Linked DNA regions of Homo sapiens: region 1 is linked to region 2. Evidence: promoter capture Hi-C in 16 types of primary human blood cells and fetal thymus (Javierre and others, 2016). All regions are on one chromosome and are shown on one strand. Each heading gives the region's core, a stretch centred on a gene start or on the middle of the fragment in contact. The rest is flanking DNA. Distances are from core to core; before and after follow the strand shown. Region 1 holds the start of TEX55 (testis expressed 55). Region 2 holds the start of IGSF11-AS1 (IGSF11 antisense RNA 1).

Region 1 (4,001 bases), core at 688-3,187, 200 kb before region 2:
ATGTTGATGAGATCTTAACACAAGGAGTTGGAGAAAATACACATTTTTAAGAGAGACTTGGATAATCCTCCAGGTCTCCAGGTGCAATATAATGCACCTCATGTCCTGGGAGGTACCTTAGGCATTGCCAATCAACTTCAAGTACTTTTTCCTTCACAGGGATGTCTAATCAACTCCAAATTCCCTTCTCCTGGTAGAAGCCCAGAGAGGGAAAATGACTTAATATCACAGAGTTAGTTGCAGAACTAGGACTTAAAATGCAGGTTTCCTGAATCCTGGTTTATTAATCCTTCCTGAATGGCCTTTGGGTAGTAGAGAAGGCAATAATTCTCTTTTATTTCCCATCCTTCTCTTGCCCTTCCTGAAATTATGGGTCACACATACCACAACATGTGGGTTTATTCTTTATCCTTGATGCAACATGTGCCCTTCCGTTGTACCCCTATTTTTACTCTCCAGGCCCCGTCTAGATCTCTGATCTCCCAGGTAGGTATCAAATGCCCATTTAACTTACAGATTTGGTTACTATGGCTTGAGTTTTTTCTTGACTGCTGGTATAGTTCAATTTGGATGAGATGGAGGGGAGTCTTGGGAAAAGAGCTTGGTCTTTTGCTTGGAAGTTACTGGTGAATCTGGCATCAACTGGGTTGTAGGGTGGGATAGTGGTTGCATTCTGAGTTTCCATTTCAACTGAAGGCTTGGAATTGAGGTCTACTTGGCTATCCTCAAATTTGCAGGGTTGTACTCTGTAGTCAGCCTCTTTGTCCTCTTTGCTGTTGCCTAACTGGGGAAATATTCTGTCTTCAGACTGGCCACGTGTTTCATAGTAAGACAGCTGGTCTTTATGATTAGCTTGTCTGTCTGCTAAGTGGTCAGTCTGGTCAGATTCAGTGTAGTGAGCATTGTCAACTGGAGGTTGATCAGCATTACTATGAGCTTGGTCAATAGCCTGGTGTTCAGCTAGTTCAGTGGCTTGGCCGTACACTTGGTGGTGAGTCTTTACAGATGTTTTGTGGTCAACGAGGCCATACAATCTGAGGTCAGTCTGCTCAGAAGTTCCTGGGTCAGCCAGGCCAGCCAATCTGTAGTCAGTCTTCTCAGAACTTCTTCTCCTAACTTTCCCTGACATTCTGCGGTCAATCTGTACGGAAGGTCTTTGGTCAGATGGTACGGACGATCCACTGTCAATCTGTACAGAAGGACTTTGGTCAGATGGGACGGATGACCCACTGTCAATCTGCACAGAAGGTCTTCTCTCAGATAGTTTGGATAATCTGTGTGTAATCTGCTCAGAAGTTCTTCGCTCAGCCTCGCCAGACATTCTGCGGTCCATCTGCTCGGAAGCTCTTCTCTCAGACTGGCCTGCCATTCTGTGGTCGGTCTGTCTGGAACCTCTCTGGTCAGATGGCATAGCCAGTCTACCATCAATCTGCCCAGAAGTTCTTCTCTCAGCCTGGGTAGGTAATCTTCGTTCAGTCTGTTCAGCAGTTCTTTCCTCCGTCAGGCCAGACACCTGACCATCACTCTGTTCATGCTGTACATTATTAGCTTGGCTAGATGCCTTGCCTTTAGTCTGTTCAGACGGTGTTTGATTAACCTGATCATCTGCTCTAAGGTCAGAAACATCAGCAGGGTTGGATGCTCTGCGGCCAGCCTGACCAGGTGTACTATGCCCATTTTGTTCAGCTACTCCGTTGGTAGCTTGGCTAAATATGCTGGATTCAGCCTGGCTAGGCACTCTTAGGGCAGTCTGGTCAGCTATTCTGTGAGCAGTGTGGTTATCTGCCTTCCTTTCGGCCTGGTTCTTCTGGTCGTCTTCTTCCTGGCCCTTAGTGTGGCCAGCACTTGAGGGAGCGGCTGGGCTTTCATGTTTCAAGGGTTCAGCCAGAGCCTCTTGCGGAGGCTCTTCCATTTCCTGCCGCGTCCCTGACTGGTCTAGGTTGCCAGGCACTGTGGGTGGGGTTGGGCTGGGTCGTCTAGGCGACCCTCCAGGAACGCCCCATGATTCCCACGGGCTTTGTTCGGGTCACTGCGTGCGTCAGGGAGAGTGGCCGTCCCGCTGTTGTAAGTGGAGGGACGGCAGTCAGCTGACCCTGCAGTGTGCAGGCGAGCGCAGGGAGTACGCCATGTCCTGAGAAGGGGCGATTCTCAGGCTCTGGCAGTTACAGCTTCTCCTCACCCTGCCGAGCAACCAGGCCACGGGGCTCCGTGCATCGCCACCTAGAGTGTTACCCTCTTCCTTGTTCACAGAGGTTCTCCGCAGTGTGTGAGAAAGAGGCCCTCTCTCAGGTACTGCTCCTCTGATTAACATCCCCCACCGCACCTCCAAATGTCAACAGATGAACACACAACCAGCTGCACGAGGACCACAAAACTGAACAGAGGTTGTTGCTATTGCCATCCCCTTTGGGTATAGCTGTCTTGGCAGTGGAAACTCCTGCCCCAAGGTGTTTTCTTGCTGGATTAGACATGTGATCTGTGGCGGGAGAGCCAGAGAGAGGAGAGAAGATCCAGTGAGAATGGGTTCTAAAACTGCACCATCTAGTGGTCTTACAGCAGAGAGGCGAGTTAGAAGGAGGCCAAATCAGAGTTCCAGAAAGGAAGGGAGTAAGGAAAGTGGGAGAAAGATACCAGAAGGAATATTTAGCAAGTGGAGAATTTGTATTTGATAGTGTTGGCCAGTGGGGCCCAGTTTTTGAGATTTGGTCCTCCCACTTTGCAATCAACCTTAAGAATGCACCTCAGAGTCAGTAGGCTGTCTACTTTCAGGAGTAGGCCAGTACAGAGGTGGTGATTGATGAGACAAATTACTTTGACCTTGCAAAGCCTGAAATCACTGAGGCAGGCCAAGGGTTGGTAGTGTGATGCCAGATATTCCTTTAGTAGGGATTTAACTGCATTAAACAATTAGAAATGAGACTTAAAATCCAAATTCAAATACTTGTGACAAAGGAGAGTGGATACACTTGACACCATACTTAGGAATGGAAAGGGGAATCTAAGCACACTGAAGTAAAGTCATTTATGTAACAGTGCCTAGAACATAATAGGTGCTCAAGAAGTGCTTGTTGAATGTCACTTTATGAATTATCTACCTTATTTATTTAAAAATGCATGACACCATTGGATACTGTGTTTAGAGTAAAATAGGTCTTGGGCTATGGCTTGTAGCTTCAAAGTGCTATTGGTTTTGGAGATTTATTTTTCCATTTTATAACTTAAATGTAATAATCATAGAAATATAAAAAAGAAAGCGTAAAGAAAAAAATTCCCAAACACTCAAGAGATAACCTGTATTGACATTTTGATGTTTATCCTTCTGGAAATACCCCCATGCAAATCTATGTGTCTATATCTATAGGTATGTATATATTTTACAAAATGATGATTTATCAATTTGAGATCTTTTTTTTAAATGTAGCTGTTTTATAGTTACAAATTTCCCTCTGAGCTGATGCTTTTGCTGCATCTCTCAAGTGTTTGGTGTTATGTTTTCATTCATCTGAAGATATTTTCTCATTTTCTGTGATTTTTTTTTCTTTGACACATTGGTTGTTTAAAAGTATGTTGTCTAGTTTCCAAATATGTATGAATTTTCCAGTTTTCCTTCTCTTATTGATTTCTAGCTTCATTCTGCTGTGTTCAGAGAAGATACATTGTATGGTTTCAATCTTTTAAAATATATTAAGGCTTGTTTTGTGGCCTACCATATGGTTTATCCTGGAGAATATTCCATGGAAAGAATGTGTATTTGCTTTTGTTGGGTGGAATGTTCTTCATATGCGTTAGGTCTAATTGGTCAATAGTGTTGTTCAAGTCCTATATTTTCTTACTGGCCTTCTGTCTAGGGTTCTACTCATTATTCAAAGTGAGAAACACAAAAAATCAGCCGGGTGTGGTGGTGTGCACCTGTGGTCCCAGCTACTGGTGGGCTGAGGTGGGAGGATTGCTTGAGACCAGGAGGTTGAGGCTGTCTGAGCCATGATTGTGCCACTGCACTG
Region 2 (4,196 bases), core at 73-2,572:
AACCTGAGAAAAGCCCACTGTGGAAGAAAGTACTGTAAGACTGGCTGGAAGAACAGGCAAAGGTCAGATTAAGCAGAGCCTTGAAGGTCATAGAAAGTAAACCTAGATACATTGTATTAGAACCTAATGATGATGCCATATTACCTCTATCTCTATTCCTAGACTTCAAGAGAACTTCTAAAAGGATAACCAAACTCTTTACTTCCACATTTAAAATATTTGTATGTTAAAAACTGAAGAATGCTTTAAACTAGTTAGAAGTTAAATTAGTACTAACACAAACATATCTAAAAATCAAGAAAAATTTTAAAAATAGTGTTTAATTTGGAAAGAAGCAGTGTTACTGGTGAACAAGAATAAAATATTTCAGTTGAGCCATTTTTAAAAAGAATTTAATTGGTTTCAGAATGTAACATCCTTCCTGATGGTTTCAGATGGCTTTATTTGTTCATAAATAACTCTACTTGTTGATTTAGCCACTTTTGTCATATGAATGCTTCATTAAACAAATGGAGCTTGCTCATTATAGCCAAGTAGAGCTATATTCAACCAAGTGGTGAAGTTGAGAGTACATGGTTGTATTTAACAGCAAAGGCCCTTTATCTGGCCTCTTGCCATCTGGAAACTCTAGATAGCATTTCCCAATATAAATCTCAATGTAGTAACCAGACTGATAAGGACATGCAACTATAGCATCACAATGTCAGAGAGTGTTCTGTATACAGGAAAGAAAAATACATTCTTCTCACCCTATTCATTATCCAAGTTAAAAGCCTAGATTTTCAGAAGTCCTTTAGAAAGCTAAGCAGCAAGAAATTTTATTTTCTCTGAAAAAGGCCAGTCACATGGAAGTTCAGATTTGGCTAGAGGGTTATCATTGTAATAAAAGACAATCCTGAAATAGCGAAAAAATAGCCCCTAGATTCTGTCAGTTTTCTCTGCCCATTCCCTGCCTTGTCTTTAAACTATGATTTCTGAAATTTTTGAAAGCACAGAGATCTTTTTTAAAGTCCTTATATAATGCTTAGGGCATTAAGATTTATTTTTAAACTTTACTCATCATTTCTAGGCTCCACAAAGTTTTGTAAGAAATGTCTATCTGTTTTTTAAAATGTCAAGTTGAATTCAAATCTGAGACCCCTTTTTAAAAAAATCATTGTGATAATTATCAATTATTGAGGCTCCCCTCTATATGCTGCAGTCTGTCTTACAGAGCCACAATGCTGGGAGGACCCCTCTGGTCTTCTGTGGAGTAACTGCTTTTTGTTCGAGCCCCTTGTTCAAGCCCGCAGGATCCTTTGTGTTGCTCTGCAGCTTCTGTGCCTTGTAGGACACATGGAATGTTGTGATGACCAGAGCTCCAGTCTCCAGGACAGCCATACTCTTTGAGGCACCATTATTTCCTTTGTCCTCTGAGCAAAGGAGAGCATGCATCTCCTCTTGTCAAGGAACTTGGCCAACTTCCATTCCCCTCCCAGTAGTATTTTTTCTCCTTTATCAGGCTCAAAGGCAGCCCCTCCTACCTCCTCTGCCCCACTGTAGCTTCCTCAGTGAGCATAGGCTTCACAAGAGACAGGAAGCCTGTTGGTCTTCAGTAGTTTCATCTTTTCACCCTGCAAAGCCGACAAGATAAAGGAATACACAGACAACTTGACAAAGATAGGCTTAGAAGAGGTAGGAGAGAAGAAGGAGAAAGACATAATTGTTATTGTTTTCATTTGTTGCTTGCTGTAGTCAGCATAGTCGTATTCATGGCTGACAAATCATATTTTGAATAGTATTTCTATTTGGAGGAATTCCCACATTATGAGTCTACCTCCCCAGTGTTAGAAATGAGAACTTAAATTTCTGGCCTCTTGTGTAGCTTGGACTTCGGCCCTTCAGTCAGATTCACATAGAGAGTCTCTGGCCCTGACTTGAAAGAAGAAACTTGAAAGAAGAAACGTGACAGAACAAGTTCTATGTTGAGCTTCTATTGCTAGCACAGATAGCAGCATAAGAGTATGGCTTTGCAGGATGGTAGTGTTGTAGGGTTAAGTGCCTGATATAGCACTGGGACATCATTCGTAGTTGCAGTAAAGTTTTGGCATTTGGGGTTTGGTGACAGGGACAGTTGCAGCAATTTTCTTAAGCCAGTTTTACAGTATAGTTATGGATGTTTTCCTGGAAGATTAGCCCTTAATTTGTTTTTCAAGCCATTTCCATGATTCTGTGAGCTTCCCAACATACCTTTTTCTAAAAAAACATTTTTTTAAAGTATAACTTACATACAATAAAATCCCTCTGTCTAGGTATATAGTTTGCTATGTTTTGACAAATGTCTCGTCTTGTGTTCACTACCATAACCGTGATGTACACTATTTCTGTAACTCCAAGGACTTCCCTTATGCCCTATGTAGTATTCTCTGCCAAACTTTAACCCTCAGTCCCAGCTCCAGCATCTGGCAACTGCTGCTTTGTTTTCTGCCTGTATAGTTTTGCTTTCTCCGTAGATTTTTTTTTAATGGATACATGCAGTATATAGCCATTTGTTTCTGGATTATTTCACTTAGCACAATAGCTTTAACATTTAGTCATTTTGCATATATCAGAAGTTTGAGGTTTTTTTTGTTCATAAGTAATATTTCATTAAATGGCTGTGTCACAATTGTTTTATCCATTTGCAAGTTGATGGGCATTTGAGTTGTGTCTGGTATTTTGGCTATTACAAATAAAGATGCAGTGAACATTTGCATATAGGTTTTTCTGTAGATCTGTATCTTTACTTGTCTTGCATAAATATCTAGAATTGGAATTGCTAGATTGTATAGTTAAGTGTACATTTAATTCTGTAATAAAATATGAAAATGTTTCCAAATGACTGTACTACATTTCATTTCCTTCAGAAATGTATGAGAGTTAGTTGTTCTACATTCTCGTCAACACTTAGCATTGTCGTGTTAATATAATATATTCTAGTTGATGTTTTGTATTATCTCAATGTGGTTTTAAGTTCCCTGTTGACTAATGAAGTGGAGCATCGTTTCAGGATGTTATTACTCATTTGTATACTTTCTATGCATAGTGAAGTGTCTGTTCAAATCTTTTGTGCATTTAAAAAATTGGACTGTTTGTTTTGTTGAATTTTAAGAGTTTTTAGATATTATAAATACAAGAACTTGTGTTTTGAAAATATTTTTTCCCAACCTATGGCTTGTATTTTTATTTTCTTAATAGTGTCTTTTGAAGACAAGAAACTTACCTTGTTTTATTATTGTTTTATTATCAAAACAATAATTTTGATGAGGTCTTACCCATTTTTAAGTGGTTAATGCATTTTGTATCCTATTCCAGAAGGCTTTTTCTAACCCAGAGTCATAGAGAATTTCTCCTGTGTTTTCTTCCAGAAGTTTTATAGTTTTATTGATATGTTTAAATTTTTTATCTATTTTGAGTTAATTTTTATATAAAGTATTAAATAAGGGTAGAGGTGTTTTTTTTTTTTTTTTTGGCATATGGAGATTATTTTTTCCCCCAGTGCAGTTTTTCAAAAAGAGTAAACTTTTCCCCCTGAATGGCTTTGACAACTTTGTTGGAAATCAATTGCCCATTTATGTATGAATCAATTTTTGGACTCTCTATATGTCCTTATTCCAATGCTACTTTATCTATATTACTTTATAACTTACTTTTTTTCTTGAAAATTATTCTATTCTAATATTCACTTTTGTACATACATTTCAGGAGCAATTTGTCTATACAAAACAGCTCACTGAAAATTTGATTTGGGTTCTATTAAATCTAAAGATAAATTTGGGTTGACTTGACCTCCTAACAGTATTGAGTCTTTTGACTAATGGTCACAGTTTGTCTCTCCAGGCAGTAAAGTCTTTAAATTTCTCTCAGGAAAATTTTGTAATTTTCATTGCACAGATCTTACAGATATTTTCTGAAGGTTATCCCTAAGTATTTCATGTTTTGGATGCTATTATAAGTGGTATCATTTTAAAATTTTAATTTCCAAATATTCATTGCTACTGTATAGAAAAATCGTTGCTATTTGTATATTAGCCTTGATTTCTGAAACCTTGCTAAACTCATTTATTAGAATTAGTTGGTTTTTTGTAGACTTGTAAGAATTTTTAATGTAGATGTGTTATCTGCAAATAAATACAGTTTTACTTTGAAATTTTCAATCTATATGTCTTTTAATTCTT

The links. Contacts are between HindIII fragments. The CHiCAGO score rates a contact against its expected background, and 5 or more counts as called.
Region 1: a contact is called between the fragment with the promoter of TEX55 here and the fragment with the promoter of IGSF11-AS1 in region 2, in 11 of 17 cell types (total CD4 T cells, activated CD4 T cells, M2 macrophages and 8 more). The highest score is 13.6, in total CD4 T cells.

Annotation. Positions count from the first base shown.
Region 1 is chr3:119,144,101-119,148,101 of GRCh38, reverse strand. TEX55 (testis expressed 55) reads right to left here and starts at 1,937. Exons shown (of 3, transcript NM_152539.3): 1 at 515-1,937. The coding sequence starts at 1,912. It also overlaps a transcript of IGSF11 not described here. RefSeq lists a silencer at 2,386-2,680. The HindIII fragment of the contact is 11,642 bases long and covers 1-4,001 here.
Region 2 is chr3:118,940,202-118,944,397 of GRCh38, reverse strand. It overlaps IGSF11-AS1 (IGSF11 antisense RNA 1), which reads right to left and starts at 1,322. Exons shown (of 4, transcript NR_046230.1): 1 at 1,212-1,322. The region is part of intron 1 of IGSF11 (immunoglobulin superfamily member 11); the gene reads left to right. The HindIII fragment of the contact is 7,141 bases long and covers 1-4,196 here.